7 separate regions of the Homo sapiens genome follow, and all the other regions are linked to region 7. The links are contacts of gene promoters, found by promoter capture Hi-C in blood cells and fetal thymus (Javierre and others, 2016). All regions are on one chromosome and are shown on one strand. Each heading gives the region's core, a stretch centred on a gene start or on the middle of the fragment in contact. The rest is flanking DNA. Distances are from core to core; before and after follow the strand shown. Region 1 overlaps LOC105372390 (a long non-coding RNA gene). Region 2 overlaps ZNF566 (zinc finger protein 566). Region 3 has its middle 4.0 kb from the start of ZNF790. Region 4 overlaps ZNF529 (zinc finger protein 529). Region 5 overlaps ZNF420 (zinc finger protein 420). Region 6 overlaps ZNF260 (zinc finger protein 260). Region 7 holds the start of ZNF225 (zinc finger protein 225).

Region 1 (3,548 bases), core at 37-2,536, 7.0 Mb after region 7:
ACTCAGTATAATGTTTTAAAAATGTATCCATGTTGTATGTGTGGGTGTTTGTGGTATACTCAATAGTTCTTATTGCTGAGTTGTATTCCACTCTATGATTGTATCACAGTTTATTCATATTCTTGTTGAACTTTTGTGCTATTTCCAAGTTTTTGGCTATTATGAATAATAGTGTCATAAACATTCTTGGACATGTCTGTTTATGAACATCTGTTTTCATTTCTCTGGGGTAACACCTAGGAATGGAATTGTTCAGACACAGTGTATAGGTGTATGTTCAGTTTTATAAGAAACTGTCAAACCATACCCAAAGGGATTGCACCATTTTACACTCCCATTAACAAAGTATGAGAGTTTCAGTCTCCCTACCTCTTTGCCAACATTTGGTGCTGTCTTTCTGGCTATATATCTCATTACTGTCCCACAGTATTTTTAATTTACATTTTTCTAATGACTAATGATGTTGATCACTTTTTATGTACTTATTGGCAAAACATCTTTCTTTGTGAAGTATCTGGTCAAAATTTTTGCCCATCTTTAATTGGTTTGTTCATCTTTTTATTGTTGAGTTATAGAAGTTCTTTTTTTTTTTGAGACAGACTCTTGCTCTGTCACCCAGGCTGGAGTGCAATCTCGGCTCACTGCAACCTCTGCCTCCCGGGTTAAAGCAATTATCCTGTCTCAGCCTCCTGAGTAGCTGGGACTACAGGCGCATGCCACTATGCCCAGCTAATTTTTGTATTTTTAGTAGAGACGGGGTTTCACCATATTGGTCAGGCTGGTCTCGAACTCCTGACCTTAGGTGATCCACCCGCCGCAGCCTCCCAAAGTGCTGGGATTACAGGCGTGAGCCGCCGCGCCTGGCCGAGTTATAAATGTTCTTAGTCATATTTTTAACAGTGTCTTTTGATGAGTAAGAAAAACATTTTTGATAACATTTGTCAATTCTTTTTCTTTTGCAGTTTTGCTTTCTGTGACTTAACAAATTGTCTACTGCCAGGTTGGAAATATGTTTACATATTTATTCTTTCTAGAAGCCTTAGAGTTGTAGCTTTTTATATTAGTTCTAGGATTTATGTTAATTTTTGTTCATGGTGGCAGGTAGGGGTTGAAGTTCATTTATTTCTTTTTCTGTATGGATATCAAGTTGTTCTAGTGCCATTTATTGAAAATGCAAATGGTATTTTCAACAGTGGAGGTCTTTGGCACCTTTATTGAAAATTAAGTGACCACTGTACGAGTATTTTCTTGTATCAAATTACCACAAATTTAGTGACTTAAAACAACACAAATTTATTAGCTTTTAGTTCTGTAGGTCAAGAAGTTCAGACCTCACTGAACTAAATTTAAAGTGGCAGCAATGCTGCATTATTTTCTAGAGGCTCTAGGGAGAATCTGCTTCCTACTCATTTAGGTTAATAGGCAGAATTCAGTTTCTTGCATCTGTAAGTCCAATGTCTCCATTTGCTTGCTGGCTGTAAGCCAAGGGCCATTCCCAGCTTCAAGAGGCTGCCACATTCCTTGGCTCACGGCCCCCTTCCTCCATCTCAAAAGCCAGCAATAGAGGGTCAAGTCCTTCAAACATTGCATCTCTCTGATCCAGCTGGGAAAGTGTTGGGAAAAAGCTGAGGGTTAGGAGAAGCTGAGGCAGGGCTTGCATGTCTGACATAATGTAAAAGAGTCTTGGAACATGTCCGGGGTCCAGGGTCTAAAACCCCTTGTGGCCTTTGGAACACCAAGCTCTATGCTAAAGGGTGGAAGCCTACCATCATGCACCATAATCTAAGCCCAGGGCATAAAATCCCTTGTGGCTTGGATAGAATCCAGGGCTCATGGCTCTGGAATGTATCTAGACTTGCTGGCTCCTTGCTCCTTGCTCTCCCAGGATTGATTGTATCTTGAGTTAAAAGAATCTGCTCTCCATTATCTCAAGTAGAGCAAATGCTAAACCATCACAGCTGTAAATCATGTACTTAATGCAATGTGCCCTTTTGACCTCCACATTCTCACCACCTGTTTCTTTGTTGGATTACCAATAAATAGCATGGGCTCCCAGAGCTCGGGCCTTCGCAGCCTCTACGATTGTGATGGCCCCCTGGGTCCGGTCCCACTTTTCTCTCTCAAACTGTCTTTTTCTCAATCCTTTGACTCCGCCGGACTTTGTCACCCCCACGACCTGGTGTTGGGTCTGATCACCCCAACAGGAAAGATTCTTCATTTTCCCTTCTCTTCCTAATACTGTAATCCTAAATCCATTAGGGGCTGAGCAAGCTAGGCATACATGCCGGTGCAGTTACTTAGGCCTAAAGCACTGCACTGTAGCTTGAGCACAATGAGGAGGTATCTATCCAGGGAGAGTATGGCGGCAGTAATGGGATAGTGGCTTCTTCTAGGGGGGACTGATCAAATATGTTTCATATACATAAATACACACATAAAATATATATTTTACTACTATTATTATTTCCTCTGATAAAAATCTGCGTTCTTTGAAGAAATGATTGATTCCAGTGTTGGGCACAGCAAATACAAGATGAGCCTGGAACATCTTTTATATGTGTAAGTAAGGGGCGCTCAAAGAATGATAGGAACCTGTTAAAGGCCGCAAAACCCACACAGGAGGGGCTCCCACTTGCCAAATCTGGAGCAAACTGGTCATTAAAATAAGTAATAATAGATTACAAACCTCTGAATGAAATAGGAAATCACAAGTCTATACTGACATAAATTAATAAATTGAAAGTTTGATGAAGAATGGTGTGTTTACATAGTCTCAGAGTACCTCCCCATAAAATCTTTACTAATTACAAAGGAAAAAAAGAGTAATTTTACAGTAGAGAAGCCTGGCTGGTATATCTTAGTGATTAAGATGTAATGCTCTTTCATCAAGGAGTATTACCAGTAATAGGATAGAATGTCATCATGTGCCCCTGATAGGAGCATGCATCACTTTTGTGGCATTCTTTCTACAACTCGGAACCTTATCATGAGGAAACATCAGAGAAAACCAAATTGGAAGGAAATTCTTCAGACTGGCTTATAATAATAAAAAGTGTCAAGGTTATAAAAGGGCAAGACTGAGAAACTGTATCAGACTAAAGGAGATTAAAGAGACATGACATCTAAAGGCAATGCATGATTCTAAATTTGTTCCTTTCATGCTATCCAGTTAATGGCACAATTGGCAACACTTGAATCTGATATCGATGGTCATAACAAATAAATGTTAATTTCTTTATTTTGGTAATTGGATTGTGGTTATGTAGGTAGGGGCATGTCCTTTTTGTAGGAAATATGCAGCATTTTGAGGGATGTTGTGGGATCTTTAAGGAATTAGAGCGACTGATGGGGTTCAGGAGGATATGATATTTATTAATTATTTAACTGCACAGTCGGATTAACATCTAAAGGACTGAGCCCTGAACAAAGAGTTAAATTACCTTTTAGGCATTTCGTCGGGTGGGGGTAGGCGGGGGAGGGGGGAGATCTATGCAGGGGGAAGCATACTACAGAAGCGAGAAACAAAGGCACTTATGCAAGTGAGACAT
Region 2 (3,552 bases), core at 766-3,265, 7.6 Mb after region 7:
CTTCTCAATGTGTCATATCAGGAGATATATATATTAGTATATCTCATTATTAGCAATGTTAACTTTGAGAACTTGGTAACAGTGTTGTTTGCCAGATTTCTCCTCTGTAAAATCACTGTTTTTCCCATTTTATTGAATAAGTATCTTGTGGGGAAATAATTTGAAACTATGTAAAAATGGCTGGGCGCGGTGGCTCATGCCTGTAATCCCAACACTTTGGGAGGCCGAGGTGGGCGGATCACAAGGTCAGGAGATCAAGACCATCCTGGCTAACACGGTGAAACCCCATCTCTACTAAAAATACAAAAAATTAGCTGGGCATGGTGGTGGGCACCTGTAGTCCCAGCTATTCGGGAGGCTCTGGCAGGAGAATGGCGTTAACCCGGGAGGTGGAGTTTGCAGTGAGCTGAGATCGCGCCACTGCACCCCAGCCTGGGTGACAGAGCGAGACTCCATCTCAAAAAAAAAAAAAAAAAAAAGAAACTATGCCAAAATCCTATTTCTCATCATGTTTTCTCACGCATTAGTTTTAACATTCATTGATAATTTTTACCTGTAACAATTATTACTGTGATGTTTGCCTAGCGGTGATTTTCTCCTTCTATCATTTCTTACACTTTGATAATTTAAATTCTACTATAAGGAAGAGCTGTCTCTTCTTGCTCCTGTTAAAAGTGAACTAAATGTGGCCTGAGAAGGACTTTGTACTTCTATATTTGAGTCCTTATGGACGAACTGTAACCTAACAGGTAGACAGAATTGGAAACCTAACTTGTGTGCCTGTAACAGTGTATGTGCCTGTAACAAGCTGAGTCTTGGCTAATCCCAGCAGCAATACTTCAACCACTCATACACTGCTGAGTGTTCAAACTGTGTTAAGTAAGGCAAACACTGTCTGGGCACAGAGGCTGGCGCCTGTAATCTCAGCACATTGGGAAGCCGAGGCAGGCGGATCACCTGAGGTCAGGAGTTGGAGACCAGCCTGACCAACATGGTGAAACCCCATTTCTACTAAAAATACAAAAAATTAGCCAGGTGTGGTGGAGTGCACCTGTAATCCCAGCTACTCAGGAGGCTGACACAGGAGAATTGCAGTGAGCTGAGATCGTGCCATTGCACTCTAGCTTAGGCAACAAGAGCAAAACTCCGTCTCAAAAAAAAAAGGCAAACAAGAACTTGTAACCAGTTGAGCTGTTTCTCCACCTCACTTCTGATTTTTGTATGTCACTTCCCTTTTTTTTGTCTATAAATTTGTTCTGACCACGAGGCATCCCTGGAGTGTCTCTGAATCTGCCGTGATTCTGGGGGCTGCCTGATTTGCGAATCGTTCATTGTTCAATGAAACTCCTTTACATTTAATTCAGCTGAAGTTTTTCTTTTGTCCCCATTTGTTTATTCAATTATTTACCTATGGACTCATGGATATTTATTTTATTCTATTCTCTATTATTATTATTTATTTATTTTGCTGTTCAAATTTTCCCATATTTGGCCATCAGAAGCTCCTTAAGTTGGCTCTTGTGTCTTTTCAACGTGTGATCATTTTTTAAAGCTTCCCCCCAACCCCGCTTTCTGGGACATAAGATGTTCCAGGTTCATCTTGTATTTTCCCTCTTCCATCTCTGGGCTCAGCAATTTCTCCAAGCAGCATTAATTTCTTTTATTGGAGAATGAATTTATAAACCAAGATCTGGGCACTTGGTGTGCTTATTGCTACTGGTGTGTCTTTGCTCTGGTTCTGGTCAGTGGAGAGAGTGAGAAAATACACAAATGTCTACATGCACATTTATGTCTATTTATTTGTTTATATGTTAAAAACACACCAGTTTACACTCATATGTTTAATTCTATTCCAGTACCACAGGGTATTTTCTTTTCCCAAGAACTATGAACTATCTGAGATTTTACCCTAGTTGTAAGCTAGTAAGTTGGCTTGTCAGTTTCACAGATACGTTCAGAAAACATGAGACTTCTGAGTCTGAGACAAAGGATGCTTTGTTGCTCATGGCAATCTTCAGAATATCTACATTCTCATGGTACTGATTCAGTCATACACCCAGGATTATGCAAAATACACAGGTATCTGTGTGTTCCCTTGACCTTAGGAAACCTGAATTTTTTATAATGGATAGTTAGAATGCCTACCCTTTGCTGTAGAAGGAGACCGACTCTGTCTTCCAAGGCTGTTCACTGTATAAACAACTTGGTAAAATAGTGCAGAACAAAAACACTTAGTACCTCTTCTTGCAAGATACGCAGAAACATGCAAGACCCATGGAGAATTGTCTCCCATCAAATTTGGCCATTTCCTTGTTACTTCATTTTCCAACAGAGAGAAACCTGCTTCTCAGAATCAATAATTAGCTCTATCCTAGAATACATGCAAATTAGTTCAGAGTTGCCAACCTGGACCTGTGTAAAAAGTATTTAGTAACTACAGTAGAGAATCTCTGTGTAGCTCTTTTTCTTTAAGCTTATAGTATATAGTAAACAAACATCTTCCAAAGTTACTCAATTTAGTTCTTTTCTTTGCCACTCTTTTCAGTATGTTTTTTTTTTTTCTTACATTTTTCTTACATTTAAGGATCATTTGTTGCATTTTGGGTTCCCCCACATCCTGGTTGATTGTAGCAGGCTACACTATTTTGAATGTGAAAACATTCGCAGGGGACAGTGGCTCACTCCTGTAATCCCAACACTTTGGGAGGCCGAGGCCGGCGAATCACGAGGTCAGGAGATCAAGACCATCCTGGCTAACACGGTGAAACCCCGTCTCTACTAAAAATACAAAAAATTAGCCGGGCGTGGTGGCGGGCGCCTGTAGTCCCAGCTACTGGAGAGGCTGAGGCAGGAGAATGGCGTGAACCTGGGAGGCGGAGCTTGCAGTGAGCCGAGATCGCGCCACTGCACTCCAGCCTGGGCGACAGAGCGAGACTCCGTCTCAAAATAAATAAATAAATAAATAAAAATTAACTTAGTTCCCACAGACTCCTTGTATATATTCAACTTCATTCGTTTCTGCTTTATCCTTGCTGTGTTTCTTTTGCACAAATGAAGAGTTACCTATATTCTTTTTACATTAAAGATAGCATTCTCTAGGCACTCTTTTGTACATTGTTTCTTTCTCTTAATGATACATTCTGGATAACACTCAGGCAGTTAAAGAGATATTCATAATTCTTTTCTAATTGTTACATAATACTGCAGCCTGTGGATTTATCATAGTTTATTGAACCGCTTTCCTACGTATGGATATTTAGGTCATTTACAATATTTTGTTACTAGAAACAGTGCTGCAATAACCTTGTATATATGTATTTTTCTATTGCTGGAGGAGTATCTTTAGGGTAGATTCCTAGAAGCGGTATTGCTGGGTCAAAAGGTAAGTGCTTTGTAGTTTTGTTAAGTATTGCAAAATTCCTCTCTAGAACTGTTGTACCAGTTTTTATTCCTACTTGCTGTGTATGAGCATGTCTGTTTCCCTTCACAGCCCACCTAACAGAATATGTTGTCATGTTTTTTAGTTTTCACCAGTCTAATAGATGAGAAATA
Region 3 (3,692 bases), core at 451-2,950, 7.3 Mb after region 7:
AGGTATGTATCACCACACCCATCTAATTTTTTTATAGAGGTGAGGTTTTGCCATATTGCCCAGGCTGATCTCAAACTCCTGGGCTCAAGCAATCCACCCAGGCATTCCCAAAGTGCTGGGATTACAGGAATCAGTCACCCTGCCCGGCCTTTTTTTTTTTTTTAATTTTTTTTTTTTTTTGAGATGGAGTTTCGCTCTTGTTGCCAAGGCTGGAGTGCAATGGTGCAATCTCGGCTCACTGCACCCTCCACCTCTGGGTTCAAGCAACTCTCCTGCCTCAGCCTCCCGAGCAGCTGGGATTACAGACATGTGCCACCATGCCCGGCTAATTTTGTATTTTTAGTAGAGACGGGGTTTCTCCATATTTGTCAGGCTGGTCTCGAACTCCCAACCTCAGGTGATCCACCCACCTTGGCCTCCCAAAGTGCTGGGATTACAGGTGTGAGCCACTGTGCCTGGCCGACCTGTTTGTTTTTTCAGAGTTTTCTGTCATACAGTCCTGTCTCGGCATGCTTAATACTTTTTAAAATTAAATTCTGGACTGGTGTATAAAAATAGTAGAGGCTGCAGATAATATCTTCCTTTAGAGAATTCATCCTTTCCTTTACTGGGCAGATCAAGTAGGGGCTGATGACCTTCATTTAATCAGTGATTGAGTTGAGTCAGGGCTCCATTACGGTTGTGGAGGTTCATTGTGCTTCTGGTTTGCCTGCTCCTAGGACGTAGCCCATCAGGGTTTCAGGAGGATCTGGTGTGTTCACCAAGGCACCTTCCCCTGACAGGGCCTGAACTCAAAATCTTTGTCTTCTTAATCCAGCAAGACTACCAAAAACTCTGCTGCTTTTTGGAAGCTTTCCGCCTAAGTTCCTGAGCCTCCTGACCCAACCAGTTTCAGAAATGGGTAACTGTCTTGAGAAGAAAACCAGCCTTATGTAGAGTTCAAGTCTGTGTCCCTCTTTTCTCACAGGGATCTTGGCCCATAAAGTCTCCAATGTTGTGTTTTTAGGCCCAGAAAACTAAAGTCCTAGCAGTCTGGATCCTTCTGCCCTTTGCCAAGAATTGGCAAATAATCCAGGAAAAATGTGGCTGCACAATGTCTGTGATTACCTACAATCTATAGTCTTGACTACGCTATTCCTGGTTGTCCCAAACACTCCTTCATGTCTTTTTTTTTTTTTTTTTTTTGAGATGGAGTCTCACTGTTGCCAGGGCTGGAGTGTGGTGGTGCGATCTTGGCTCACTGCAACCTCCACCTCCTGGGTTCAAGCGATTCTCCTGCCTCAGCCTCCTGAGTAGCTGGGATTACAGGCATCCGCCACTACGCCCAGCTAATTTTTTGTATTTTTAGTAGAGACAGGGTGTCACCATGTTGGCCAGGCTGCTCTCGAACTCCTGACCTTGTGATTCACCTGCCTCAGCCTCCCAAAGTGCTGGGATTACAGGCATGAGCCACCGCGCCCAGCCCCTCATGTCTTTTTCATACAGGAAAAAAAAGTTAAAAAGCTTTGTGTTTTTTTTTTTTGTATTATATCTGATTTTTTAGTTTTCTGCAGGAATACTGGTTTGCTGCAAGCCACTCCATTGTATCCCTAAAGTGACTTTTATAGTTTCATTCTGACTATATTATTAACTTTGTTTCATTGGATATGAAGGTGAATACCTTTTTAAATATTTAAAACTTATTATTTCCATGAACTATGTTTCCTTTGTCTGTCTCACTATAATACTAATTTTTTAAATTCTAGAAATATTATTCACTTTTATTGAAATGTATGAGCACTTTATATATGGTGGAAATTAGTGATTTATAAATCTCATATAGGCACATTTTATAATATTTTTTCCTGGTATCTATCTTTTTATTTCCGTTTATGCCCTTTGCACATTTTAAGCTTGAGGTTATTTGTTTACTTGTTGAGTTTTGAAGGTTCTCTATATATTCTGGATACAAGTCCTCTGCCTGATATATGATTTACAAATATTTTCTCCCAATCTATCCCATGTCTTTCTCCTTAACGGTGTTACTTCAATAGCAGACGTTTACATTTTCTATGAAGTCCAGTATATCAAGTTGTTCTTTTATGGATTGTGCTTTTGTTGTCATGTCTAAGAACCCTTCATCTAACTGCAGGTCATGTACACTTTCTTTTATGTGTTCCTAAAAAAGTTTTATAGGCTAGGAGTGGTGGTTCATGCCTGTAATCCAAGCACTTTGGGAGGCAGAGGCGGGAGGGGCGCTTCAGGCCAGGAGTTTGAGACCAGCCAGGGCAACATAGTGAAACCTTGTCTCTACAAAAAAAAATAATAATAACTTCTCCCCTCCCCCCACCCCCCACCCCGAGATGGAGTCTTGCTATGTCCTCCAGGCTGCAGTGCAGTGGTGTGATCTCGGCTCACTGCAACTTCCACTTCCTGGGTTCAAGCAATTCTCCCTGCCTTACCACATCCAGCTAATTTTTGTATTTTTTAGTAGAGATGGGATTTCGCCATGTTGGACAGGCTGGTCTTGAACTCCTGATCTTAGGTGATCCGCCTGCCTTGGCCTAAAAATATATATATATATTTTTTGAGATGGAGTCTTGCTCTGTTGCCCAGGCTGGAGTGCAGTGGTGTCATCTCAGCTCACTGCAACCTCCATTCCCCAGGTTGAAGAGGTTCTCATGTCTCAGCCTCCTGAGTAGCTGGGATTACAGGCACGAGCCACCATACCCAGCTAATTTTTGTATTTTTAGTAGAGATGGGGTTTCACCACATTGGCCAGGCTGGTCTCAAACTCCTGACCTCATGCGATCCACCTGCCTTGGCCTCCCACAGTGCTGGGATTACAGGCATGACCCACCGTGCCCAGCCTGTTCCTTCCATTAATCTATCTTTCTGTCCTTCACCAAAAACACACTGTCTTGATTACTTAGGGCATCTCAACCTTGGACCATTATTTGGGACTGGATAATTCTTTGTTGTGGCAAGCTATCCTGTGCTTGTAGTGTATTTAGCAGCTTCCCTGACCTCTGTCCTCTAAATGCAAATTGTACCTCTCCAGTTGTGACTACCAAGAACTTCATACTGTGCTGTATATCTCCTGGAGAACAAAATCACCTCTGGTTGAAAAACATTATGGTAAAGCTTTGAAAATATTAATAATATTTTAAATTCCTTTTTAGATAGTTCCAACATCTACATCATATCTTTTTCTTTTCTTTTAATTTTTGAGGTAGGGTCTTGCTTTGTTGCCCAGGCTAGAGTGCAGTGGTGCAATCACAGTTCACTGCAGCCTCAAGCTCCTGGGGAGATCCTACCTGAGTCTACCTCTATTTGTTTGTTGTTGCTTTTTGCTTTTATGTCTTGAGTGTCATGATTTTTCTTGCCTTTTCATGTGTCTTGTAATTTGATGTTGCTGAAAACCATACATCTTTAGGACAGTAGTGAGCAGAAATTAGTTAACATAGCAGGTCTGAGACTACTTATCCTTAGAAAGGCCTGATATGCGAGGTTAGTCTTTGGCTTGCATCTAGAACTTGAATTTCAGATTGGTTCCCACCTTCCTAATAAGTGGCTTACTATGCCTAAACTTTTTGTACAAACAGTATGGTTTATGTTAAACACCCGCTTTCCTTCTGGGAATTTGAAATTCTGGTATGTGTTAGGCACAGACTGCCTATGTGACCAGCCCCCAATAAAAACATAGGGCACTG
Region 4 (3,877 bases), core at 439-2,938, 7.6 Mb after region 7:
CGCGCCTGGCACCCATAGGCAACTTTCTTAGTCTGTTTGTGCTGCTATAACAAAATACCTGATTTATAAAGAACAGAAATGTATCACAGTTCTGTAGTTTATGAAGTCCAAGATCAAGGCATCATCAGGTTCAAATGTCCTCTTCCAAGGGTGCCTTGATGCTGCATCCTCCAGAAAGGACGTGTGTCCTCACGTGCAAAAGGGAGGACAAGGAAGTCTGCATTGAGCCTCTTTTATGAAGGCTGTAATCCCATTCACAAAGGGAGGAGCCCCTCATCACCTCTTAAAGGCTCCACCTTCTTTTTTTTTTTTTTTTTCTGGAGACAGAGTGTTGCTCTGTCGCCCAGGCTGGAGGGCACAATCTCAGCTCACTGCAAGCTCCGCCTCCCAGGTTCCTGCCATTCTCCTGCCTCAGCCTCCTGAGTAGCTGGGACTACAGGCACCTGCCACCACGCCCGGCTATTTTTTTGTAGTTTTTTAGTAGAGACGGGGTTTCACCCTGTTAGCCAGGATGGTCTCGATTTCCTGACCTCGTGATCCGCCCACCTCGGCCTCCCAAAGTGCTAGGATTACAGGCATGAGCCACCGCGCCCGGCCAGGCTCCACCTTCTAATACTATCACATTGGCAACACCTGAATTTTGGAGAGGACATGTTACATTCTGCCCCTGGACCCCCCCTATATTCATGTCTTTCTCATGTACAAAATACATTCATTTCACTCCAATAGCCCCCAAAGTATTAAAACTCATTTCAGCATAAACTTTAAAGTCAACTTAAAGGGCAGAGTCTCATCTAGGTATTATCTAAATCATGTGATTCATCCTGAGGCAAATTGCTCTCTAGTCCTGTACCTGTGAAACCAAACTAGTTACGTGCTTCCAAGCTACAATGGAATAATAATGGAATAAGGCAGACATTTCTTTTTTTTTTTCCCCTGGGCTGCAGTGCAATGGTGCGATCTCGGCTCACCGCAACCTCCGCCTCCCAGGTTCAAGCGATTCTCCTACCTCAGCCTCCCGAGTAGCTGGGATTACAGGCATGCACCACCATTCCTGGCTAATTTTTTTGTATTTTTAGTAGAGATGGGGTTTCTCCATGTTGGTCAGGCTGGTCTTGAACTCCCCACCTCAGATGATCCACCTGCCTTGGCCTCCCAGAGTGCTGGGATTATAGGCATGAGCCACTGCACCCGGCCAGGACAGACATTTCTATTCCAAAACAGATAAATAAGAAAGTATGGGTCACTGGTCTCAAGTAGGTCCAAAACTGAACAGGGCAAACAACAATAAACCTTTAGCCTGGAGAATAATCATCTTTGACTCCTTGTCGCATGTTCCAGACACACTGGGATGGGGGTTGGACCCCAAAGGCCCGAAGGGTCCCTGCCACCATGGCTTTGGTGTGCACAGTTCATACTGCAGCTCTCATAGGTTGCAGTCAGGTGCCACTGGCTCTCTCCCAGGCCCATGTTGCATGCTGCTGGCTCTACAGGTCTAGGGTTTGGGGAGTGGCACAGCCTGTATGACTCCACTGGACAATGCCCTAGGGGGGACTGTCTGCAGTGGCTCTGCCTCTGTAGTAGGTCTCTGTCTAGGCCCTGAGGCTCTCCAAGGCATCACGTGCCTGTAATCCCAGCTATTTGGGAGGCTGAGACAAAAGAATTGCTTGAGCCGGGGAGGCGGAGGTTGCAGTGAGCCAAGATCGCACCACTGCACTCCAGCTTGGGCAATACAGTGAGAGTCTGTCTCAAAAAAAAAAAAAAAAAGAAATCTCTTTGAAGGATGCCATGCTTCCACATCTTGTGCACTCTGCACACTTGCAAAATCAGTACCATGTGGATGCTGAGGTTCACCACTTTGCCCTCCAGAGCAGGGACTAAACTGCACCTGGGCCCACTGGAGCCACAACTACGGCAGCCAAGGAGCACTGTGCCGGGATGTGGGGAGCAGAGACTTGAGGCAGCCCCGGGCAGCAAGCCCCAAAGTTCCATGAGTGTTCTACGCCCTTCCCTGGAAACCATCCTGCCTTCAAGGCCCTCGCACTGTGGGCCTGTGATGGGAGGAGCAGCCTTGAAGCTCTCTGAAGTGCCATTGGGTTCATTCTCCTATTGTCATGATGAAAACACCTGGCTTCTTTCTAGCCACACTCTGATCAGAAAGTCACTTGGTCACACCCTTGGTTTACTTTCCTAAATACCTTTTTATTTACATGCTTAGGCTGAGAATTTTCAAATCTCTATATTTTGCTTCCGTGTTATAAATCCCATCTTTGTATTGTTTCTTCTCACATTTTACTCTGAGTAGTTAAGAGAAGCCGAGCAGCACCCTGAACACTTTGCTGCTTAGAGATTTATTCTGCCAAATATCTTACTTCAGAAACAGCTTCTGATTTATATTGGCTTAATTCAAGTGAGATAGAGAAATTTACTCCTATATAACTCTTATTTCCTTTCATCTTCTCTTATAGTAATATTGGTCTTCACATTATATCTACAGATGTTTCAAACTCAACCAATCGTTGTTGTAATTTTTACCTTATATAAGTCTATGTTTTTAAAAAAAAATGAGAAGAAAGGAGAACCTTTATACATTTATAACTTTTATTTTATCAATCTGATTTCTCACTTTGGGTTCTCCTCATTTGGTCCAGATGGATTCGAGTTACCATCTGGATTCATTTCCTTAGCCCAGTACAACTTTGCTTTCCCCTGCCTTGTGTTATTATTAGCAAATATATTACATTTCTGTATGTTATGGGCCCAATAAATACATAAGTACACGTTTCATAAAATTTGTATATCAGTTAAGAGGAGAAGAGATATATATGTATACTGTCTTTTATAATTACATAAAACTGGCTTGCTTCTCTTTTTTTTTTTTTTTTTTTTTTTTGAGACGGAGTTTCGCTCTTGTTGCCCAGGCTGGAGTACAATGGCGTGATCTCGGCTCACCGCAACCTCTGCCTCCTGGGTTCATGTGATTGTTCTGCCTCAGCCTCCCGAGTAACTGGGATTACAGGCATGCATCACCACACCCGGCTAATTTTTTATTTCAGTAGAGACCAGGTTTTTCCACGTTGATCAGGCTGGTCTCGAACTCCCAACCTCAGGGGATCCTCCCGCCTCAGCCTCTCAAAGTGCTGGAATTACAGGTGTGAACCAACGCACCAGGCCACTTCTCTTTGTTTTTTCTTATGGATTTGTATTACTGCCTGGGATCACCTGTTTTCAGCCTAAAGAGCTTCCTTGAGTACTTTTTAAGGTCAGTCAGCTAGCAATAAATTCAGTTTTTATCTGGAAATGTCTTTTCATCTTAAGTTTTGAAATGTTCTTAAGTTTTGAAATATAGGTTTGCTGCATAAGGATAACCACCCCCCTCTGTTTTACTGATATATAATTGACACATACATATATGTATACACACACATACAAACACACTTTTATCTGTCCATCCATTGATGGACACTTAGGTTTCCATACCTTGGTTATTATGAATAATGCAGCCATGAAAAGGACTGCAAATATCTCTTCAAGTTACTGACTTGGCCATGTGTGGTGGCTCACGCCTGTAATTCCGGCACTTCGGGAGGCCAAGGTGGGTGGATCACGAGCTCAGGAGTTTGAGACCAGCCTGGCCAACATGGTGAAACCCCGTCTCTATTAAAAATACAGAACTTAGCTGGGCATGGTGCCACATGCCTGTAATCCCAGCTACTCAGGAGGCTGAGACAGGAGAATTGCTTGAACCCGGGAGGTGGAGGTTGCAGTGAACCGAGATTGTGGCACTGCACTCCACCGTGGGTGAAAGAGCAAGACTCCATCTTGGTGCAGGGGGAAAAGAGTTATTGACTTCATTTCTTTTGGCTGTATAGCCAGA
Region 5 (3,664 bases), core at 498-2,997, 7.0 Mb after region 7:
GCCTCCCAACGTGCCGGGATTATAGGCGTGAGCCACCGAGCCCAGCCCAAAGTTCTTAATATGTAATATTCAACTACCAAGCACATATAAGACAATGTGTTTGTTCTAATTAATGGGTTGTCTTCATTTGAGTTGTTGGTGAAATGCATTGATCTACTCTATCACTATACAAATGATGTAAACTCTTTTATCAGAAAAAACATACATCTCTGCATCTATTTTTTAAATCTGTGACTGGGCGTGTGAATTATTTAGAGCTCCTTTAGCAGATCTAAAGTGTAACAATGTATAGGCTGTTTTATCTGCCAATATTCCAAGTATCCCAAACTTCAAATCTAGCCCTTTGTTCATCAGGGAAGATGGTATTAGAAGGCAGTGGTAAGGCTTTTTGAAGGATGGAAAAGATAAAGGTGCCCTGAGAAACCATGTCTACTTCCAGTAATTTCAAACTCCTCCTTTGAAAAGAATAAGAAATTCAGTTAATTACTTAAAAAGGAAATTTGAAATAACAGCAGAGAAAGCAGCCAATCCAAAGGTAGATCCTGAAATATGAAGGCTAGATTCCTTACCTAGTGATACCAAGTTGCTATAGTTCTCCAACATCACATCTCTATACAAATCTCTCTGAGCAGAGTCCAGGCATTCCCACTCTTCCTGAGAGAAGTCAATGGCAACATCCCTGAACATCACTAATTTCTGAAACAACAAACAAAATGTTAATTTTGGAAATTTAAAAAATGCTTTTCTTTTTTTCTTTCTTTTTTTTTTTTTGAGATGGAGTCTTGCTCTGTCGCTCAGGCTGGAGTGCAGTGGCGCGATCTCGGCACGCTGCAACCTCCGCCTCCTAGGTTCAAGCAATTCTCCTGCCTCAGCCTCCTGAGTAGCTGGGATTACAGGCACCTGCCACTGCGCCCAGTTAATTTTTGTATTTTTAGTAGAGATAAGGTTTCATCATCTTGGCCAGGCTAGTCTCGAACTCCTGACCTTGTGATTCACCCGACTAGGCCTCCCAAAGTGCTGGGATTACAGGTGTGAGCCACTGTGCCCGGCCAAAAAAATACTTTTTCAATGGAGAGGGAGATGAAGATCCCTCCACAAAGGAAGCAACAGAGCACATGGGCTGAAAAGTACAAATATGTTCCTGATTATTCCTATTGCTATAGTTTTGTTGTTGTTGTTTTGGAGACAGGGTCTTGCTCTGTCATCCAGGCTGGAGTGCAGTGGCACCATCATAGCTCACTGCAGCCTCCAACTCCTAGGCTTAAGTGATCCTGTCTCATTCTCCTGAGTAGTTGAGACCACAGTACGTGCCACTCACAGTACATGCCACTGTGCCCTGATAATTTTCCAATTTTTTTGTAGAGACAGGGGTCTTGTTATGTTGCCCAGGCTAGTCTTGAATTCCTGGCCTTAAGGCTTAGGCCTCCCAAAGTGCTGGGATTATAGGTGTGAGCCACTGCACCTGGCCTGCTACACATATTTTCTGCATACAGAACATCTTACTTTACAGATAAGTCTGGGAATAAAATAAATGCAATGTCCCAATTAAAAGAAGTAGCATACACAAGCATTTTATACAATATGTATATTGTGTATCATACATTCTCAATAAATGTAAGTTTCTCTCTTCATTATTTAAGGAATAAACAAAATGGTAAAATTTTTCTGTAAAACCTTATAAAATAAGATTTGTATAAAATTAAAGAATTTATTGAAGCTCCAGATTCACCATTAGATCAGAGTACTATATCATAAACATTTTCCTTGTCATCAATAATTTAGTAAATATTTTATAGGCTACAGAATAGCTCCATATAATGAATATGTCTGACTTAATAAGTGCTCATATTTGAACATTTTAGGTTGTAAAAATCTTGTAAGTATTTCTTGGTTCTCAGAGTTTATAATTCTCAACAACTTCTGCTGGTGAATGATCATCTTCACTATGATCATATTTACCATTCATCCGTAAATGTAACTTTTCATCATTCTAAACAATAGAAAGGTGAAAAACATAATCCAAATTTATACATTCAAGACCAGCACATAATGTCGAATTTCAAATTGATCCATATTAAATTATATGTTCCTGGGGAAGATCCCTGATCTCTCTGTATTCAGTCCCTAATCATCTTCCTAATCTTAAAAACTCATAAAGCATGAGCGCTTGCCACATACTGAGAGTGAGCCCAGTCAAGACCAACTCCTGTCTTGTCTACCTGGGAACTTAGATCTAAAGAGAAGTTCAAAAGGTTTTCATGTGTGGTGCCATTTAACATCCTCCTCTACCTTATGAAATCAGGGAACTCTACTTTTGTTAGATCAGTGTTCCTAGTCAAAGATTACTGAACAATATACATATTGTTGAGTAAGTATGTGACTAAAGGTTAGATTCGAAAGACACACTTAGGGAAGACACTATCACTTATCAGAATGGGACAAACTGAGGAGCACATTCCTGAGTGAGGTCAGTTAGGAATGAAGTTTCAGGAGTAAGGAATACAAACACACACATGCTCTGTAAAAAAGTAAGTGAAAAGAGCACAAGGAAACTCCAATTTACCCGAGCCATGGTTTTTAGAGCTGCAAGAAATGATCAGTCCTCTTCTGGGTTCCTATCTTAGGAAAGCACAGAGTCTGGAGAATGCAGAGCTACGGAGGAGAAAGCAGAACCATGAGACCAGGTGTTTTGCAAAGTAACAAATGATTCAGTTGGAATTATCTTTGTTGTTCTTTTCTTCCTGTTTCTCCCACCCCCAAAACACACACTAAGGGGGACAGACATATGTTGTGGTTCTTAACTTGATCAAACTCAATGCTTTCTATATACAAAAAGAAAATATAACAATGTCTCTACTACTTCTGAAATGAAACTCATAGGTAATAACGACACATCTATAGATGTCAAAAATGGAGATAATGAACAACTTAATATTTCAATATATTTATGATCATACACAACTACATTAGAAGGCACAAATAATTAAATGCTTATGCCTACAATTACTTATAATGAAGAAATTTAGACTTATAAAATGACAATATGTAACTAAGTATTGTTGACACCTTTTATATTTGACATTTTGAAATAAAGGCTAAATATATGTGTGTTCATGTGTACGTATAGAATAAATAGAAATGCATTATCTATAAATGGAGGTTTCTATACATATTTGCTATAGGCAAGACAAATAACACAATTAGCATTGCCATCAATACTATAACTTTTTGAAATGGTTAAAAAAAACTCAGTAAATTTCTTAAGCGAAGTAGAGCCTTTTTCTCAATCAAATCATGGTTGCATTCCTGGAAGATACAGCTAATAGTAAAACCATCCAATAATAGGAAAGTAGATAAATTCAGCAAATTGAAAAAGTCATGCACAAAATGCATTATGTAAGAGATTCCAGACCTGGAAAATCATAAACACATTTTTTCCAGGTATGGTTCTCAATTTTGCAAATCACAGACAATTTTTTGTTATGCACTGATGGACAACTAAATCATAACTTGGCAAACTACTGTCTACCAACTAATTTTGTAAATAAGGTTTTATTGGAATACGTCCATACTCATTCAGTTATATAGTGCCTTTGGCTACTTTCACACTACAGCAGCAGAGCTGAAGAGTTGCAGCAGAGACCATGTGGCCCGCAAAGCCATA
Region 6 (3,767 bases), core at 218-2,717, 7.6 Mb after region 7:
TCTGGGAAGTGTTCTTTATTAGCTCTTTGAAAATGTCCTGTATTCATTTTTCTTCATACTTTCTTTGGAACTTCTTTAGTAGATGCTGATCCTTCCAGATTCTTCCACTAACCCACTAAATGTTCCAACCATTACACTCTTTCTTTCTGCCTTCCTCCATTCTTCCTTTTTTTATTCTAGGAGATTTTCTAGACTTTCTTTCCCCAACATACTGAATTTTTAAGATCAATTTCATATTGTTTATTTCTAAAAACACCTCTTTATAGAACACTGTTAATATTTCATTGCAGTGATAATAGTAATCTCCTAACTTTCCATGATATTAATTGTAGTATTATATGGGTGAGTTTTTCTGCTCTTTGCCTTGTATTTTGTTTGATCTGCCTTTGATGTTAGGACTTTCATCAAATGTTTTCTGATCTTTAGCTCTATATTAATTTGTGTATGTAAGCGGGGCTTATGAAATGGTGGTTTTCACTGTGCATCAATCAGTAATATAGATGTGTTTCGTTAGATGATTCCAAATGTTAGCATCTGTAGGTGTTCTCATGGTCTTCTCATTTTTTCAGAAAATAATTCTTCCGGGCCGGGTGCGGTGGCTCATGGCTGTATTCCCAGCACTTTGGGAGGCCAAGGCGGGTGGATCATGAGGTCAGGAGTTCAAGACCAGCCTGGCCAACATGGTGAAGCCCCGTCTCTAACTAAAAATACAAAAATTAGCCGAGCGTGGTGGCGGGCACCTGTAATCCCAGCTACTCGGGAGGCTGATGCCGGAGAATCCCTTCACCCGGGAGGCAGAGGTTGCAGTGAGCCGAGATCGCACTGCACTCCAGCCTGGGCAACAGAGCGAGACTCCGTCCCAAAAAAAAAAAAAGAAAGAAAGAAAAAAGAAAATAATTCTTCCATCATCTGACAGCTAGTAACCACCAGCATTCTCGGACTCTAACAGTAGAAGAGCCTCTGTTATGTGTATAAACTTTTACTCATTCTTCTCTTACTAGGATGCTCTCATTACTTTGCTGGTCATCACTAAATTTGGAGCCTCTTGGTTTTGTCTGGATGATAAACTTCACATTTCTGTCCAGCTAGGAGAGTTCAGGGCATTAGCTGGTCCTTTCACAGTCATTTTGTAAGCCCTGCCTTCCACTCTTGCCCAGTTTCTCCACTGACAGAGCATATCTGTCAATATCTGTGTTACAGACCTGTGAAGGTGGCCCCCACATCTGCTGGCTTTTCTTTAAACCACTCAGTTCTGCTGTTAATTTACAGTTCTCTATTTGCTTTCTTTCCAAAATTTCCTAATACTTTTTTTTTTTTAGAGACAAGGTCATACTCTGTCACCTAGGCTGGATTGCAATGGCATGATCATAGCATACTGCAGCCTCGAACTCCTGGGCTCAAGCGATCCTCCTACTTCAACCTCCCAAGTAACTAAGACTACAGGTGTATGCTACTGCACCTACCTAATTTTTAAAATTTTTGTAGAGATAAAGCCTTGCTGTGCTGCTTAGGCTGATCTCAAACTCCTGGCCTCAAGCAGTCCTCCTGCCTTGGCCTCCCAAAGTGCTGAGATTACAGGAAGGAGCCACTATCCCTAGTCCTCCTAATACTTTTTGTCCACTGATATCTTCTTAACCGTTTAGTTCTTATGTGTCCTTCTTCACCCTTTTACTGTCATTTTAATGGTGTTTCGGGAAGACATAGAAATAAGCACCTTATTTAAACTTTTCTGTTCATTTTATTTTTGCCCTGTCTTCCTATGCACTCCCAGTCTTTTAAGTATTTGTCCTTTCATCCTGTTTCTCACCGATTCCTTATGTTTTAAAGACCAAGTCGGCCGGGCGCAGTGGCTCACGCCTGTAATCCCAGCACTTTGGGAGGCCAAGGCGGGCAGATCACGAGGTCAGGAGATCGAGACCACCCTGGCCAACGTGGTGAAACCCCGTTTCTACTAAAAATACAAAAAATTGGCAGGGCATGGTGGTGGGCGCCTGTAGTCCCAGCTGCTCAGTAAGCTGAGGCAGGAGAATGGCGTGAACCCAGGAGGCGGAGCTTGCAGTGAGCCGAGATCATGCCACTGCGCTCCAGCCTGGGCGACAGAGCAAGACTCCGACCCAAAAAAATAAAATAAAAGACCGAGTCTTGCACTGTCACCCAGACACTGGCACGATCATAGCTTATTGCAGCCCTGAAATCCTGGGCCTAAGCAATCTGCCCACCTCAATCTCCTCAGTAGCTAGGACTACAGGCACCATGCCTGGCTAGTTTTTAAATTTTTTATAGAGACGAGAGTCTCGCTGTGTTACCAAGGCTGCTCTCAAACTCCTGGCCTCAAGCAATTTTCCTGCCTCACCCTTCCAAAGTGCTGGGATTATAGGTGTGAACCACCATACCTAGCCTTATTTTCTCTCATTTTACTGATTTATGAAGTGTGCTGGGTTACATTGAAAAGCAATTAAAATTACACATACCTGGGAATGTTATTTGTATTTGAACTTTATTTTATAATGAGACTAGGCTTGGATAAAGAATCTATTTTACAGCCGTGCGCAGTGGCTTATGCCTGTAATCCCAGCACTTTGGGAGGCTGAGGTGGGCGGATCACCCAAAGTCGGGAGTTTGAGACCATCCTGGCCCACATGGAGAAACCTTGCCTCTACTAAAAATACAAAAATTAGCCAGGCATGGTGGCGGGCTCCTGTAGTCCCAGCTACTCGGGAGGCTGAGGCAGGAGAATTGCTTGAACCTGGAAGGCAGAGGTTGCGGTGAGCCAAAATCGCGCCATTGCCCTCCAGCCTGGGCAACAAGAGCGAAATTCCATCTCAAAAAAAAAAAAGAATCTATTTTACAGTAATACATTTCTGAAATTATATTAATAATGGGAAACTTCAAAGGTGTTAGTGATATTATGTTGATGATAATGATAACCTAATTTATTGGACGCTTATTACATGCCAGGCACTATATATTATATTAACTTTTTCAATTATGATTTTTTTGTACTTCCTTTTAGAAGAAGCCTGGGAAGTTTATAAACAGATAAAGACGCAACATGAAAGACTTGTAAGTTAAGTCTCATCTTTCTCTGTGAAAAGACAGACTGAGGGAAAATTTAGGAAACAAAGTATTTCCTCTGAACAGTCATTGATTCTTCAAGACTACCCTTCTGTGTATGGAACTCAGTTTAAAAGAATTTGAAACCTAATTTATATACAATCTATACCTAAATATGGGAGAAGCTATATAAGAACCATTAAGAATATAAAGAGAATGTTACATTTTATCCCTTTTTGTAATCATCTCATCTCAGGGTAATCAATGTGAGAAAAGTCTTCCATCATAAATTTAACTTCATTAGATACCTGAGAATTAATATTGAAAATACACCATATGAATTTAGTGAATGTGGGAAAGCTTTCATCCTTATTACATCTTATTTGATACTAGGGAAATCTCCTGATTAAATTCACATGCATGATAGGCATGTTGGAAAGTCTTCAGCATGAATCAGATCTCCTTCAGCATGATCAAATTCATACTGGAGAGAAACCTTATGAATGTAATGAATGTAGAAAAACTTTTAGCCTGAAGCAAAACCTTGTAGAGCATAAGAAAATGCATACTGGAGAGAAATCTCATGAATGCACTGAATGTGGTAAAGTGTGCTCTCGAGTCTCATCTCTTACTCTACACCTTAGAAGTCACACAGGAAAGAAGGCATATAAATGTAATAAATGTGGAAAAGCCTTCAGCCAGAAGGAAAACTT
Region 7 (3,536 bases), core at 1,001-3,500:
CATTCATAGTAACCCAAAACTGCACACCAACAAACTCCCTCCTATGCGTACATGGATAGACAAATTGTGGCCTATCCATACAATGGAATCTTATTTGGAAATTAAAAGGAATGAAGTACTGATTCATGCTACAACACGCATGAACTTTGGAAACATTATGCTAAGTGAAAGAAGCCAGTCACATAGGAAGGCCCACATATTGCATGATCCTATATCTATGAAATTCCAGAGTAGGCAAGTGTATATAACGAGAAAGTAGATAGGTGGTCTCTGCATATTTGAGGTGACAAAGAGGATTAACTATAAGTGAGCACAAGGAGGCTTAATGGGGGATGAAAATTATTTAAACTGAATTATGGTGATGTTTATTCCACTCCACAAAGTTCCTAAAAATCATTAAAGTGTACACACGAAATGGGTAGTTTCTATGATATGTAGAATACACCTCAATAAAGTTGGACAAAGCATTGGTAATTGTTCATCCACATGTCATTTAACTTAATAAGACTGGATTCTGGATCTACACTGATAGAATATTTATAGTTGAATGAATGAATAAGCAAATGAAGGAGAAGGGAGAGTTCACCTTTACAGTAGAATGTGCACTAATAAATGTATTTCTCCTTACAAAATTTTATTTAACTAAAAAATTAGGGAGTGTATATTGAGAGCAACTTGAATCTGTGTTCCTGGGGTAAAAAAAAAAATTCAAAATAATTTTACAATGCGGAAATCTGACAAACATGACTTTAGCCAAGTGAACAAAGTTGAGATCACCAATGAAGTGACAAACTGACATATGGCCCCTGTTATGTTGCAATAAGAAATTTACCACTTCAGGCTGGGCACGGTGGCTCATGCCTGTAATCCCACACTTTGGGAGGCCAAGGCGGTTGAATCACCTGAGGTCAGGAGTCTGAGACCAGCCTGGCCAACATGGTGAAATCCCTTCTCTACTAAAAATACAAAAATTAGCCGGATGTGGTGGCAGGCACCTGTAATCCCAGCTACTTGGGAGGCTGAGGCAGGAGAATAGCTTGAACCCAGGAGGTGGATGTTGCAATGAGCTGAGATCGTGCCATGCACTACAGCCTGGGCGACAAGAGCGAAACTCCGTCTCAAGAAAAAAAAAGAGAGAGAGAGATTTACCACTTCTGTGGTATTCCAGCAAAAAATGCATATTTTGAAGTTAAACGTGAAATACATCAGAAAAACTCCAAATGAACATCTTTGACCAAAATAACTTCATCTATACTCTTCAAAAATAACAAGGATAAAATACCAAGAAAAAACGATGAAAGCTATGCTATCTTTCAAGATTAAAGACTAGAAAAACATGACAACTGAAAGCAACACCCATGCCCGAAGACACATCCTATACACTCTCGGTTGGGGTGAGCATCTCTGTCAAAGAAAAAAGCCAAGGATCACTCACGTAGAGCTTTGCCCTCAGAAGCCAAGAAGTCCCTCCCTGCAGCTCTTTTGGAAAGGTCGGGCTGGGTAAGGAGAAGGCTGTGAAACACTCTGACCGTGGTCGCCGTGCCCCATAAAAGTTAAATGCTCCTCTCCCCTCCTGGAAGTGGATGCAACCCTCGCCTTCCTAAAAGAGAGGTCAGAAGGCGTCCGGGATCACCCAGCGTCTTGCAGGAATCAGGGAGAAGGGCCGGTGCCCCTGCAGCTGGAGTTTCACCCCACCCGGGGACCTGACAGGCTTCGTGGGAAATTAACAAGAGACCACCAGTCACCAAGTGACAGGGGCTGCTTTAAGGCTCTCATTTGTGTTACCGCTTTCAGTTCCCAAAACGATTCTATTAGGATGGTCCTAAACTCCCCATCTTAAAGAACTGTAACGGGAGACCCAAGGAGATTAAGTAACATCCCAGCGTTTTATCGCGAGGAAGTGGCCACGCGCGTGGGGTGCAGGGAGGCCGAGTGGGCGAGCTCAGAGCCCCGGAGACCCTAAAACCAGGCGAGACGCGACCCGACCAAGTCCCAAACACCCCGGGGACGCGAGGAGAGCCCCAAGCCCAAGAAGGCTCCACTGACGAGAACGAAAACAGCGGCCCCGCTCCGCCAAACCTCTGCTCTCCGACGAGGTTTCTTTTCCCCTAATTCGATCACCAGTTCGTTAAGGATCCAATGCGTAGGTCCAGGAAATTCAGAAGGGTCTCGCGGAACTGACCCAAACTACCAGGGACAAAACTGCAGCAACCTCACAGTAACGGAGCGGAAGTGGCCCGCTACTCCACTGAGTGTCTGGACTCCACTTCCCAGAATTCCTGAGACAAACTGACCGCGACGACCCCGAGCGTCTGGACTACACTTCCCAGAATTCCCTGGGATCCACCTGCCGGAGTCAAATTGACCGAGACTCCACTGAGCGTCTGGACTACATTTCCCAGAAATCCCCTGATTCGCCTGCCGGAGCCAAGCTGACCGCTACTCCACTGAGCGTCTGGACTACCATTCCCAGAATTGCTTGTATCCTCCTTCTGGAGCCAGTGTGTACGACTCCACAGAGCATTTGGATTACACTCCTCCGAATGCTGAAGGAAAAACGCTCAAAATCTCATTCTTCAGGGGGAAGCGTTGCCACTCCGAGGTGCCCACTGGGAACGAATCCCAAAGCCACGAGCGCCTGCCTAGTGGGGAATGTGAACTGTTATCCTGAGAGTCGTCCTTCTCTCTCCCTGGTCCAGGACAGAAAATACTGAATAGACAGGAATTTCTGAAGTCTAAACGCCTCCAATGATAACAGGAGTGTTATTGGAAAGGGAACAAGCGAGAAGACACAGTCTTCGAGGAGTTAAGTTTTGCTAATCTAATGGTAAGAAATGGTTTCTAAATGTAGTTTTAATTTGTATTTGTTCTTTTGTAAATAAAGTGGAACATCCGTGCATATTTTCCGTTGCCACTATTATAGTCTTTGTGAATTGGTCAAATAGTTTGCCCACATTTCTATTGAGTGTTTAGTTTTTTCCCCTCCGTTAAGTATTATTTACATACTCATATTAACATTGTATCAAATATTGCTCAACCAAAAAGCTTTTTTCCTTTGACTTGTTTTTCGCTATGCAAAACGTTTTTAACGTGGTCGTTTTATTATTTAAAAAATATTTTTGAGGTGTAATTCACAAAACAAAATTATTTTAAGGCACATAATTCAATGGCAATGGCATCTAGTACGAATACAGTGTTGTTAATATATACGAGTTAAGAAGCCATCACTTAGGCAGATAGGGTATGGGAGCCCTCGGTAAGGCTTTTCTTTTTAATGAAAAGCAGCCCCAAATTATTTCCCTTCCTAAGGAAGAGCAGCCTGTAAAATCCAGCTGCCGCAGACATAGATACCAGCAGTTGTGCCAATCATGTTAAAGATGGCGGCTCCATCTTCCCTTCTCTTTGTCAGCCACGTGCACAGTAAGAAGCTGGCAAGATGGGCCAATCAACTGGGAAGCCTATTTGCATAAGAAGATTAGGGTGGGGCGACCAGCCTTCCCCACGCACTATGTAAACGTCATAACTGATCGAACCAA

Evidence for each region. Contacts are between HindIII fragments. The CHiCAGO score rates a contact against its expected background, and 5 or more counts as called.
Region 1: a contact is called between a fragment that was not itself captured here and the fragment with the promoter of ZNF225 in region 7, in 1 of 17 cell types (naive CD8 T cells). The highest score is 6.1, in naive CD8 T cells.
Region 2: a contact is called between a fragment that was not itself captured here and the fragment with the promoter of ZNF225 in region 7, in 5 of 17 cell types (naive CD8 T cells, naive CD4 T cells, total CD8 T cells and 2 more). The highest score is 10.9, in naive CD8 T cells.
Region 3: a contact is called between a fragment that was not itself captured here and the fragment with the promoter of ZNF225 in region 7, in 3 of 17 cell types (monocytes, non-activated CD4 T cells and total CD8 T cells). The highest score is 8.8, in monocytes.
Region 4: a contact is called between a fragment that was not itself captured here and the fragment with the promoter of ZNF225 in region 7, in 2 of 17 cell types (naive CD4 T cells and activated CD4 T cells). The highest score is 7.8, in naive CD4 T cells.
Region 5: a fragment that was not itself captured here is called in contact with the fragment with the promoter of ZNF225 in region 7 in 6 of 17 cell types (non-activated CD4 T cells, activated CD4 T cells, total CD4 T cells and 3 more); the score reaches 25.8 in non-activated CD4 T cells.
Region 6: a fragment that was not itself captured here is called in contact with the fragment with the promoter of ZNF225 in region 7 in 1 of 17 cell types (non-activated CD4 T cells); the score reaches 9.2 in non-activated CD4 T cells.

The regions. Positions count from the first base shown.
Region 1 is chr19:37,063,479-37,067,026 of GRCh38, reverse strand. LOC105372390 (a long non-coding RNA gene) reads left to right here. Exons shown (of 2, transcript XR_001754095.2): 2 at 1-2,125. It also overlaps a transcript of ZNF420 not described here. Among named protein-coding and RNA genes, the nearest start is that of ZNF420, 13 kb to the left of the region's middle. The HindIII fragment of the contact is 6,364 bases long and covers 1-3,548 here.
Region 2 is chr19:36,481,515-36,485,066 of GRCh38, reverse strand. The region is part of intron 1 of ZNF566 (zinc finger protein 566); the gene reads left to right. Among named protein-coding and RNA genes, the nearest start is that of ZNF566, 6.3 kb to the left of the region's middle. The HindIII fragment of the contact is 921 bases long and covers 1,555-2,475 here.
Region 3 is chr19:36,840,496-36,844,187 of GRCh38, reverse strand. It overlaps a transcript of ZNF790 not described here. Among named protein-coding and RNA genes, the nearest start is that of ZNF790, 4.0 kb to the right of the region's middle. The HindIII fragment of the contact is 389 bases long and covers 1,506-1,894 here.
Region 4 is chr19:36,559,274-36,563,150 of GRCh38, reverse strand. All of the region lies in intron 2 of ZNF529 (zinc finger protein 529), which reads left to right. Among named protein-coding and RNA genes, the nearest start is that of ZNF529, 12 kb to the left of the region's middle. The HindIII fragment of the contact is 5,321 bases long and covers 1-3,877 here.
Region 5 is chr19:37,088,027-37,091,690 of GRCh38, reverse strand. ZNF420 (zinc finger protein 420) reads right to left here. Exons shown (of 5, transcript NM_144689.5): 3 at 2,564-2,652; 4 at 570-696. The coding sequence starts at 2,572. Among named protein-coding and RNA genes, the nearest start is that of ZNF420, 11 kb to the right of the region's middle. The HindIII fragment of the contact is 6,334 bases long and covers 1-3,664 here.
Region 6 is chr19:36,514,946-36,518,712 of GRCh38, reverse strand. It overlaps ZNF260 (zinc finger protein 260), which reads left to right. Exons shown (of 3, transcript NM_001166037.2): 3 at 3,014-3,767. The coding sequence starts at 3,475. Among named protein-coding and RNA genes, the nearest start is that of ZNF260, 11 kb to the left of the region's middle. The HindIII fragment of the contact is 3,899 bases long and covers 1-3,416 here.
Region 7 is chr19:44,112,113-44,115,648 of GRCh38, reverse strand. ZNF225 (zinc finger protein 225) reads right to left here and starts at 2,250. Exons shown (of 5, transcript NM_013362.4): 1 at 2,080-2,250. It overlaps ZNF225-AS1 (ZNF225 and ZNF224 antisense RNA 1), which reads left to right and starts at 2,466. Exons shown (of 2, transcript NR_033341.1): 1 at 2,466-2,827. RefSeq lists an enhancer at 1,797-2,496 and a silencer at 2,189-2,539. The HindIII fragment of the contact is 4,811 bases long and covers 1-3,047 here.